4 separate regions of the Homo sapiens genome follow, and regions 1, 2 and 3 are each linked to region 4. The links are contacts of gene promoters, found by promoter capture Hi-C in blood cells and fetal thymus (Javierre and others, 2016). All regions are on one chromosome and are shown on one strand. Each heading gives the region's core, a stretch centred on a gene start or on the middle of the fragment in contact. The rest is flanking DNA. Distances are from core to core; before and after follow the strand shown.

Region 1 (2,700 bases), core at 36-2,535, 1.4 Mb after region 4:
CCTTGTCTCTAAGAAAATAAAAAAACAATAACAGTTAATAAAGTTTCCAGGAGTACCTTAGATAATCCCAGAATTGTATTTGTAATATTAGGAGAAGGGCTATTTTTAATATTCTAAAATTTATCATTGGAATGCCCATAAAAATTGCCTATGAGTAGAGTCATCATTACATCAGAATAATTTATGATAATTATTTAGGACTCTGCTTTTGATAAATATGTGCTCTGTAACTACTTAATAAAGTCATGAAAAATAATTTTTAAAATATAAACGTTACTTACATATCCCAGTTTGGAGCTATCCGCAAATGCTGGATTAGCAATTGGAACTAGAATAAGAAATTTAAGTGTAAAGAAAAGAAAAAATTAAAATGTTTAAGTCACAAAACACAGAAAATGACAGCAAAGTTAACAGCTCAGGACTTTATACAAAGGAAATTTACACTGTACACCAAAAATGGTATTTACTAAATTACAAAGGCACTAGTATACGAATAAGATTAAAATAAAAACTAAGAACAGTATTTTTAGTTTCTCCTACCACTTTATATTCGCTAAATGACTGCCCTTACCTGATAGACACACACCAACTATCAAAAAAAGTAACCTTAATACTATCCTGGAAGCAAATGAACTTAAATTTTTTCAAGCCAATTCCCAAATGAGGGACCACTATAGAAAACACCTCCGAACCACTGTAATTCCTCTCTGAGGATGACTTCAAAAACTCTGCCAATCGATGCTTAAACATGAGCCAAAAGAAACAAAAACCAAAAAAACTCTGACAAATTCCCTTGAGCTTACCAACAGACCAAGACAGTCCAAAAAGTAATATTCCCAGGGGAAGAGGAAAAAAATGTCTTAGAGGATTGATGTCTTCCTTCAATGTCACATCAGAAACCCTGCAGTTTACCAGATGACCCAGTAAAGGAACCGACACCCCCGACCCATTCCACATGGGGAGTTCATTCCAGTCACTAATGAGAAGGTAAAAGGTCTGTCTTATGATATCACTTTTTTTTTATTTTTATTTTTTGAGATGGAGTTTCACTTTTTTTGCCCAGGCTGGAGTGCTGTGGTGCGATCTCAGCTCACTGCAACCTCTGCCTCCCGGGTTCAAGTGATTCTCCTGCCTCAGCCTCCCAAGTAGCTGGGATTACAGGAGTGCACTGCCACACCCAGCTAATTTTGTACTTTTAGTAGAGACAGGGTTTCACCATGTTGGCCAGGCTGGTTTCGAACTCCTGACCTCAGGTGATCCACCCACCTTGGCCTCCCAAAGTGCTGGGATTACAGGCATGAGCCACTACGCCCAGCCTGATTTCAGATTTTTTTTTAAATCTTACAAGTTAACATAAAATGGAAACCTGAGTATTACAAACAAACAAACAAAATAAGTTCAAAATCACCATCTACTGTCATCTACTTTAGGACCTAAGGATTAAGCAGAGGATAATTTTCATAAACCTAAAATCGTGATAAATCAGTTTTTTTGTGGTAGTTAAATCAAATTGTTATTTTAGCACTTGTTTGAGCCTCTATAAAAACACAAATTAAAATGCATAAGGCATGTCACACAGGCTTACCAGGGGGGAATGGAGGAGCCTGGTGGCCACCTCCTGGTGACCAGCCACCACGCACAAATAGCAAAGGAGATTCAGCTTGGCTCGGGAGGCCCCCATGCTCTTCTCAGTGGAGTCGATCTGCGAGCACACTTGTTGCAAAAAGTCATTCCAATCTTGATCTTTCAGAAATAATAACTTATCCACTGCGATGGAAAGAAAATAATAAAAGTACATATGATGAGAAAAAGAACTGCTGGAAACATTACATAAGAAATAAACACAGAATTACGACAGCTAAGATGAGGACAAACATTACACTGTCAAAACCAAAAATACTCCAAAGATGACACTATTTTTATTCGTCCTTCTATATTCCTAATCTCTTTATCTATCCACGGAAACTTTTTAACCACTTCAATGGAAAACTATACTTTCAAATAAAGCAGATGTCTAAAGCAGAACTGTCCCACAACCTACACTATAACAAAATGCAAAGTTCAATACAACTGGAGTAAAAGACAAAAGAGCCTTTGTATAAATAAATCAACTCTCAAATATTGAGAAAAGCACAAATCCTACAGTTCTTAAAAAGTTCCAATAAAATTATTGTAAAAAAAATAACGAGAATAACATGATAGCTAAAAATCACCTGAAATTCCTACCTCCAAATCCCTATACAAAAAAAAGGCAAAATCTAGGAAATGTGATACCCCCTAAAATTAACATATTTTTGGCTGATCTCTATCTTTAGACAAAATAAATTGTAAATATAATCTCCTAAATAACTCAAAGAAGAAAAGGGAAATAGTATTTCCAGGTGATAATTCTCTAGGTTTGCGTAAATAGTCCTACTTGGCACTGAAAGCACTATTAATAATACTTTGCTTCACTTGGCCTTTCAAAAACGTCCTTCTACACAGTTTCTTTTTTGTTTTTATCAGTAATTAAGTTGACCAATATAAACCCTTAGCTGGTTTATTTAAACCTAAATATATTTTAAATTTACTTCAAATCATAGATTCTACTCTAGCCACGATGAATAATTTTCCCCAAATCGAGTTTAACAGCTTAAAATATAATTTGTTAAACGAAAAAACCAATTTAAGGTATGTAAAAATTTCTGATGGTCACCCTAA
Region 2 (2,700 bases), core at 198-2,697, 1.4 Mb after region 4:
AGTTTTAATATTATGCTCTTATTGCATACATCACATGAGAGCTAAAGTGGCACTGCAAAGGAAAAGATGTACCTTTACAATGGAGCTCTCTGGCAGCACTACTTTAATCAAATGATCAAAGTAGGTGCAACTATTAAAACCTGACACTGCATGCTTCCTGATGAGTTCAAATATGAAGTACCCAGTATCACCTATGATATGTTCTTACCAAAAAAAAAAAAAAAAGGTTCAACCTAAATCTAATGAAGCGTCCAGACCTAACCTACAGTTTATAGGAAATGTGTGGACTAGAGGAATAAGTTAGCAATACCAAAAAAAGCAAGCAGACAAATCTGGAATGTGGAATATTCAACAGGACAAACAGCCTGGACTCTCCAAGAATCAATGTAATGTGGCAAGAAAAAATAGAGGAACAATTCTAGAAAAAAACATGAGGAAAGAGACTCCAACAGTGAATTATAGAGAGCACCAAGTTGTTTCTTATAATGATGCAAAGGTGATTTATTTTTAGGAATTCCATTAATATAATCCACCTATTAATAGAGATAGGAAGAAAAATTAAATACTCCTATCTTCTGATGCCATACCAAACTCAATAACCATTAATGTTAAAAACAAAGAGGAAACTGGTAAATACTTATTTAACATGATTTTATGCCAACACCAAGTATTCATGAGAATACAGAGCACTGAACATTCTTTCATTAGTCAAAGCATTTTAACTTATACAACCTTACTGGAAAACAGTTTAGATTACCCCCTAAAGTTGAACACACACATATCCTGTAACCTACCAATTCCATTCCTACACATATCCAACAGAGAGCTTGCGCAAGTGCATCAAAATGTGTGTGCAAGGCTTTTAATAGCCAAATACAGAAAACAATCCAAATGCCCATCACCAGTGATGTAGTATACTCATGTAATAAAAATGAACTACAGGTACAGGCAACAAGGATGAATTCCATAAACATAATATGAAATAAAAGAAGCCAGATACCAAAGTATACATATCATATGACTCAATTTAAACAAAATTCAAAAGCCGGCAAAATCATGACAGAATTGGAAGTTACGGTAACTTCCTTTGGCACAAAGGGAGAGAACAGTGATCAGGAGAGAGCACAAGAGGATCCCCGGGTATGCTGGCAATGTTCTACTTAATGTTCTGTTTCTTGACCCAGTGACAGTTTATTGGGTTTTCACACTTGGCAATAATTCATTAAGCAATACATTTATGTTTTGTATGTATTTCCAACACTTCAATAAAAAAGAATTATAATTTTCAAACCAGAAAGAAAGTACAAAGTAATCTCTAAATATCTAAAAAAAATTGAAAACATATGTAACTATATATCATATTGGTGACAAAAGTACAAAGTGAAGAATTATATAAATTGCTTTTAAAACTCAGCGTTTTGACTGTACATATCATCCAGTGGGTTATATCCCAAGGGAAAAAAAGTACTTAAAATGCACTTTGTAGTTTTGTTGTTAGTAACAATACGTGTACTATTTTTAAACTATTCTAAACTCTAAGCTAAAAAAAAAGATAATTATGTTAATGTTATTAATGGCCAAGAGTGTTTTTTTTTGAGACAGAGTCTTGCTCTGTTGCCTAGGCTGGAGCGCAGTGGTCCGATCCCAGCAGCCTCCGCCTCCTGGGTTCAAGCAATTCTCATGCCCCAGCCTCCCAAGGAGCCAGGATTACAGGCGTGCATCACTATGCTCGGCTAATTTTTGTATTTTTAGTAGAGATGGGGTTTTGCCATGTTGGCCAAGCTGGTCTCGAACGCCTGAACTCAAGTGATCCACCCACCTCAGCTCCCAAAGTGCTGGTATTACAGGCATGAGCCACCGCCCCAGCCAGGAATTTTAGCTTATGAGAAGAAAAATAAAAATTGTAAATCAAAAGGTAAAAACGAATTTTAAATCTGAATTGGAGCCAGGCGTGGTGGCTCACCGCTATAATCCCAGAACTTTGGGAGGCCAAGGTGGGTGGATCACCTGAGGTCAGGAGTTTGAGACCAGCCTGGCCAACATGGTGAAACCCCATCTCTACTAAAAATACAAAATTAGTCGGGCATGATGGTGCATGCCTGTAATCTCAGCTACTCAAGAGGCTAAGGCAGGAGAATCGCTTGAACCCGGGAGGCAGAGGTTGCGGTGAGCCGAGATCGCGCCGTCGCACTCCAGCCTGGGCAACAAGAGCAAAACTCTGTCTCAATAAAAAAATCTGAATTGGAAAAGCAGAATAAACTGTGAATTTTTCTCTTTTTAAGAAACAATAGTACCTAGATCTAACCTCTGAAAAGCTCTACCAGGAAAAAAAAAAAAAAAAAAAAACCTAGAGAACCCAGATTGAGTTCTCTAACTACATCTTCTAACAAAGTAAACAAGATTCCTTATAGAAGTGGTTTCAAAACTAGGGGTTGACTATTCCCGAAACAAGCCTATGAAAGCTCACTGCCGAGAAGCCAGCAAGCTGTCAGAGACAGGAGTAGGCTCATGTCAAAGGGAGAAAGGAGCAAACTTGAAAGAGCTCCCACTGGATGGAGATGAAACAATGTAAGCATCAAAAAGACTAATGACTGCAAAGGACTAGACGATATACATATACATATATACACCTGTAAGTTCTTAACAATATAAAATCAATCTCACTAGACACGGAGATTTCTCAGGTACCAACTCTTTATT
Region 3 (2,700 bases), core at 81-2,580, 1.4 Mb after region 4:
AAAATCAGCTAGGCATGGTAGTGCATGCCTGTAATCCCAGCTACTCCGGAGGCTGAGGCAGGAGAATGGCATGAACCCAGGAGGCGGAGCTTGCAGTGAGCCAAGATCACACCACTGCACTCCAGCCTAGGCAACAGAGCAAGACTCCATCGCAAATAAAATAGTTAAAAATAAAATAAGAAAGCTGAAAAAATAAAATAAGAAAGGGTTAGGTGTGGTGGCACAAGCCTGTACTCCTAGCTACTTGGAGGGCCAAGACAGGAGGATCACTTGAGGCCTGGAGTTCGACACCAGCCTGGACAGCACAGCAAAACCCAGTTTACAAAAAAATTTAAAACTTTGCCAGGCATGGTGGTATACATCTGCAGTCCTAGCTACTCAGGAGACTGAGGTGGGGGAATCGCTTCAGTCCAGGAGCTCAAGGTTACAGTGAGATATGATCATGCCACTGCAAGACGAAGGAAAGGGAAGGGAGGGGAGAGTATGGAAGGAAAGAGAAAGAAACAAGAACCGAAAGAGTAAGGGCATGGGTGTGAGCAGCTACACAACAAGTGCAGGAAATCGTGAAGACAGGGTGTTGCTGGAACACAAAGCCAAAGGTGGGGTTAAGGGGTGAGGGGGGTGGCAAGGTGGGGGGTGAGGGGAGAGATGGGGTGAGAACTGTTAGTCTGGGTCCCCCAAGAAGCAGACACCAAGACAGAATTATCCACACAAGGATTTTATTACAGGAAGCGTCTATGAGAAAAAAATGGGAAAATCTGGTCAGATTGCAATGTACGATGGACTCCATGCAAAGAGAAAGGGAAAGAAGATTAGATGAAAGCATCCTTAGATAGATGCCATGCAGTCTTAAGAAAGGTTCTTCAGGATCATCAAGAATCCCTGAACCAGGCCAGGTGCGGTGCCTCACACTTGTAATGCCAGCACTTTGGGAGGCCGGGGTGGGCAAATCACCCAAGGTCAGGAGTTCGAGACTAGCCTGGCCAACATAGTGAAACCCCGTCTCTATTAAAAATACAAAAAAATTAGTCAGGCATGGTGGCAGGCACCTGTAAGCCCAGCTACTCGGGAGGCAGGAGAATTGTTTGAACCTGGGAGGCAGAGGTTGCACTGAGCCGAGATCACACCATTGCACTCCACCCTGAGCAACAAGAGCAAGACTCTGTCTCAAAAAAATAAATAAATAAATAATAAAAAAAATAAGAATCCCTGAACCAGGCTGGGCACAGTGGCTCATGTCTGTAATCCCAACACTTTGGGAGGCTGAGGTGGGCAGATCATTTGAGGTCAGGAGTTCAAGACCAGCCTGGCCAACATGGTGAAACCCCATCTCTACTAAAAATACAAAAATTAGCTGGGCATGGTGGTGTGCTCCTGTAATTCCAGCTACTTGGGAGACTGAGACCAGAGAATTGCTTGAACCCGGAGACAGAGGTTGCAGTGAGCTGAGATCACGCCACTGCACTCCAGCCTGGGCAACAGAGCAAGAGCTCATCTCAAAACAAACAAAAAAGAATCCCTGAACCAATGTCAGCCACCAGAGTGTCTCCTAGGAACAGGCCTGCCTTAGCATCCCCTCCAAGCTCAGTCATTAGCTGGGTGCAGTCATGAGAAGCATGGCCTCAGAGCAAAAGCACTGATGAATTTCTTCAAGTAGTTGGAGGCCTTGGTCAGTTGTACCTGCAATTGAAGGACAGTGAAGCACAATCTTCTGGCCACAAGAACAGAGAGGCAATCAGGGACCAGACCGTGGAACCTGAACCCTAACCTGTAGGTAGAGGATTCTAAATTTGAAACTCTTTTCATAAATCAGCCCAGATTTCTAATTTCTCTAAATCAATCAACAACACTGGGCCAAAACTGAGCGTAGTTTGACATAACCCCCATTAATCCCTCTTACACTAGGCCACATTATTGATTTATATAACTTTTCTGTCCCTGAATTTGGGAACTATGATCCAGCCAACCCCTATCTTTACACAGGAAATTAAAACTCCTAGCAGCTATGTGACACTACTCTGAAGGTTACAAAGAAGCAAAGGCAGAACCAGAATCCAGATGTCCTTATTAGAAGCTCTTTTCGATATTATTTTTATGCAGCCTAACCAAAATTTTTGCCCTAAAATCAGCATCAATGTTAACAGATTCTTTATGGCTGTATACCACCACTGACCAATCATCAACCCCACCCCAGTACCCACCTACTCAAATATGTCAAAAGGTAGGGTGATTTTTTTCATGTGCCTTGCTCATCGCCATACTTAGACAGTGAATTCTCAAAGTCTCCAGGAAAACAGAAGTGGTTTTACACTCTATTTTTATCTTAATGCCACAGGGATGTAAAAGTTAACCACCTATGAAGTACACGATCCCAAAAGGTCAGGGCTGATTCTGCCCTGCTGGTTACGAAAGCGTCCTCTCCCCTGGCCAAACAGACTAACCTGCCCTGTCATAGAGACTGTTCTTAGATTAAGTTCAGAAGTAAGCATCACTGCTAGAATGTCTGACCTATTTTTCCAAAACACAGCTCTCTTCCCCTTACTAAATATGCATTTATACTGAAATATACCATTGACCTTGTTTTCTATAAAATTATACACAATAATTCAGAACTTCATATCCTACTAACATAGACCACAACAGTCATTTTCAAAGAATACTGATAATTCTATGGAATGCAATTTAAGGACATTAAAAGCC
Region 4 (2,700 bases), core at 197-2,696:
TAAAGTGAAAATACTATAGATTTTATAAAATGAACTGTTTCTGTGACAGTTAAAATCTCTGTGCTAGGTGGCCCCACAATGGCTCCCAATGGTTCTCATATCCTGGCATTCAAACCTTGTGTATCTCTTCCCACACTGAATCATGACTAATCTGAGGAGAATGTATTGAGGAAATCATGATGCATGATTTCCAAAACTAGGTCATAAAAGCTTTGGCCTTGGCCTCTTGGATTGCTCACTTTGGGAGAAAGCTACATGCCATGTTGTGAAAACCCTCACATGGGAAGGAACTGACGCTTCCTGCCAACAACCAGCACCCACTTGACAGCCATGTGAGTAAACCACCTTGGAGGTGGATCCTCCAAACTCAGTCAAGCTTCAGATGACTTCAGCCCCACATGACACCTGACTGCAACCTCAGCAGAGACCCTCAGCCAGTACCACCCAGCCAAGCTGCTCTTGAATTCTGGGTCCACAGAAACTGTCAAAAGATAACAATGTTTATTGTTTTTAGCCACAAAGCATTAGAGTAGTTTATTATCCAGCAGTAGATACATAATATACTCTCCATGGCAGGACTTGTTTTGAAAGTGGTGGATAAATCTAATTCCTGTGGAAGGAATAACTAAAATCTGTTTCCAGGCTGGGCCGGGACACACATCCCAGTACAGGGCAGGAAAGGGCTCTAAGCCAAATGTTAATAGCTCTTTCGCTAAACTTCGAAAATTGTCCTTAAAAAAATCTATTTCCCTAAAGCACGCCACATATTGGAGTCCCAGCAGCACCTATTTTGTGTCTTCAAAAAACACAATTGGAAAACAAAACAATACAAACTCACGAGTACATACTATGTGCCAGGCACAACTGTAAATAATTTACCTATCAATTAACTAATTTAATGAATTAACCCTGAACAGCCTCAAGAGGTTGGTACCACCATCATAATACCCATTTAATAGACAAGGAAACCGGGGCAAAGAAACTTGCTGCAGGTCACACAACTAGCAAGTGGTGCAGCTGGGTTTCTGGACCTACGTAGTCCATACACATTCGGCCTTCTGAGTAATGGGTTCGCCTTTCCCCACACCCACTTTTCCCACTGCAGCGCACCCACACAATCCAGACAGTTTTGGCGCATGTGAAGGGCGCGATGGTCCCTTCATTATCTGGAAGGACACCCAGAGTGGCAAATGCCAGATAACCACGAATAATACCCAGGATAGTAACCATTCTGTGGCCTGAGCTGGCCAGACGTCATGCCCCGAAGGAGCTACCAGGTGTGGGCGCTGCAGGACCCCTGCCTGGGGCCGCCCGCTCGGGCCCGTGTTGTCTCAGGCAGTAGGGACACTGGCGCTGACGGCGGGGGTAGGAAACCACAGAGACTGGCAACTTCCCAGGTTCCTAGAGAGGAGGGGCATGGAAAACGCACTTCCGGCGGAGGGTCTCAAGCTTTCCCCGGTGTCGGCGGCAGGTGGAATTTCCACGCTTTATCTGCGCCTGCGCCGCGCGGGATTCGCGGTCCGAGCTGAAGAGGTTCGCGGTCCGGGTAACTGATTGGTTTTCCTGGGGCTTGTTCTGCCTGGTTTTGCAACCCCTTTGCTTTTTGGGGTGAGGAGTTGGCGGAAAGGAGAGGGGCCCAAGTAGCACAGAGGGCATTTGCGGGGTGCGAGGCAGCATCAATCTCACCGGTGCTTCTTTATTTTCTCTTCAGTTTCACTTCTCCGAACCCTGAGGCAGTGTGTGAAGCTGGGACGCCAGCCATGTTCCAGACCGCTTGGCGCCAGGTGAGTGAGCATCCTCTCCCTCCCTCCCACCCTTTAGATGTCAAGAGAGAGCAGGTGTCACCTCTGCATTCAGATCTTGAGTTGTGTAGGCCAGTGGCTTCCATTGTGCATCTGTCACTATGAGAGGGATGGAGAGGTGAGAATGCCCAAATTAAGACTAGAAAACTAGTGAGTGTGGGGGGATTGGTTGGGATTTGGCATTTGAAGCCAGCTTAAAAATAAAAATTATGAAATGTGGAAATCTGCATTATTACATCCAATAAAGACCCCTTTCACCCTAGTCCGCAGGCTTGGAGAAGTACTTACTTCTTCAGTATAGCAATTCTAGTAACTGTTTTGTAGATTCCATTGTATTTTCTACATAGGTCATCTATGAGTAAAGATAGTTTTACTCCTTTCTTTCCAGTCTGGATGCCTTTTATTTTATTTTGTCTTGCCTTACTGCACTGGCTAGAAGCATTATTTCAATATTGAACAGAAGTGGTGAGAGCAGATATCTTTGTCTTATTTATGCTTTTAAAGTGAAAGCATTCAATCTTTCACACTGAAGACTGATGTTCACTGTAGGTTTCTTGCTTTTTTGTTTTGTTTTGTTTTGTAAATGTCCTTTATCAGGCATTCTCTTCTAGTACTACTTTGGTGAGAGTTTTTATAGGAATGGATGTTGGATTTTGACAATTGCTTTTTCTGTGTCTATTTAGATGACCATATGGTTTTTTTTTTTTTTTTTTTTTGAGATGGAGTCTTGCTCTATCGACAGGCTGGAGTGCAGTGGCGCGATCCTGGTTCACTGCACCCTCCACCTCTGGGGTTCAAGCGATTCTCCTGCCTCAGCCTCCCGAGTAGCTGGGACTACAAGCACGCGCCACCACACCCAGCTAATTTTTGTATTTTTAGTAGAGACCAGGTTTCACCA

What was found. Contacts are between HindIII fragments. The CHiCAGO score rates a contact against its expected background, and 5 or more counts as called.
Region 1: a contact is called between a fragment that was not itself captured here and the fragment with the promoter of ZNF620 in region 4, in 5 of 17 cell types (naive CD8 T cells, naive CD4 T cells, activated CD4 T cells and 2 more). The highest score is 7.3, in naive CD8 T cells.
Region 2: a fragment that was not itself captured here is called in contact with the fragment with the promoter of ZNF620 in region 4 in 14 of 17 cell types (naive B cells, M2 macrophages, M1 macrophages and 11 more); the score reaches 13.0 in naive B cells.
Region 3: a contact is called between a fragment that was not itself captured here and the fragment with the promoter of ZNF620 in region 4, in 1 of 17 cell types (M1 macrophages). The highest score is 6.6, in M1 macrophages.

Annotation. Positions count from the first base shown.
Region 1 is chr3:41,895,237-41,897,936 of GRCh38, forward strand. ULK4 (unc-51 like kinase 4) reads right to left here. Exons shown (of 37, transcript NM_017886.4): 15 at 1,586-1,767; 16 at 282-328. Among named protein-coding and RNA genes, the nearest start is that of ULK4, 66 kb to the right of the region's middle. The HindIII fragment of the contact is 3,983 bases long and covers 1-2,700 here.
Region 2 is chr3:41,875,757-41,878,456 of GRCh38, forward strand. The region is part of intron 17 of ULK4 (unc-51 like kinase 4); the gene reads right to left. Among named protein-coding and RNA genes, the nearest start is that of ULK4, 85 kb to the right of the region's middle. The HindIII fragment of the contact is 3,624 bases long and covers 1-2,700 here.
Region 3 is chr3:41,922,000-41,924,699 of GRCh38, forward strand. All of the region lies in intron 5 of ULK4 (unc-51 like kinase 4), which reads right to left. Among named protein-coding and RNA genes, the nearest start is that of ULK4, 39 kb to the right of the region's middle. The HindIII fragment of the contact is 5,614 bases long and covers 1-2,700 here.
Region 4 is chr3:40,504,593-40,507,292 of GRCh38, forward strand. ZNF620 (zinc finger protein 620) reads left to right here and starts at 1,447. Exons shown (of 5, transcript NM_175888.4): 1 at 1,447-1,546; 2 at 1,712-1,784. The coding sequence starts at 1,761. The HindIII fragment of the contact is 1,073 bases long and covers 375-1,447 here.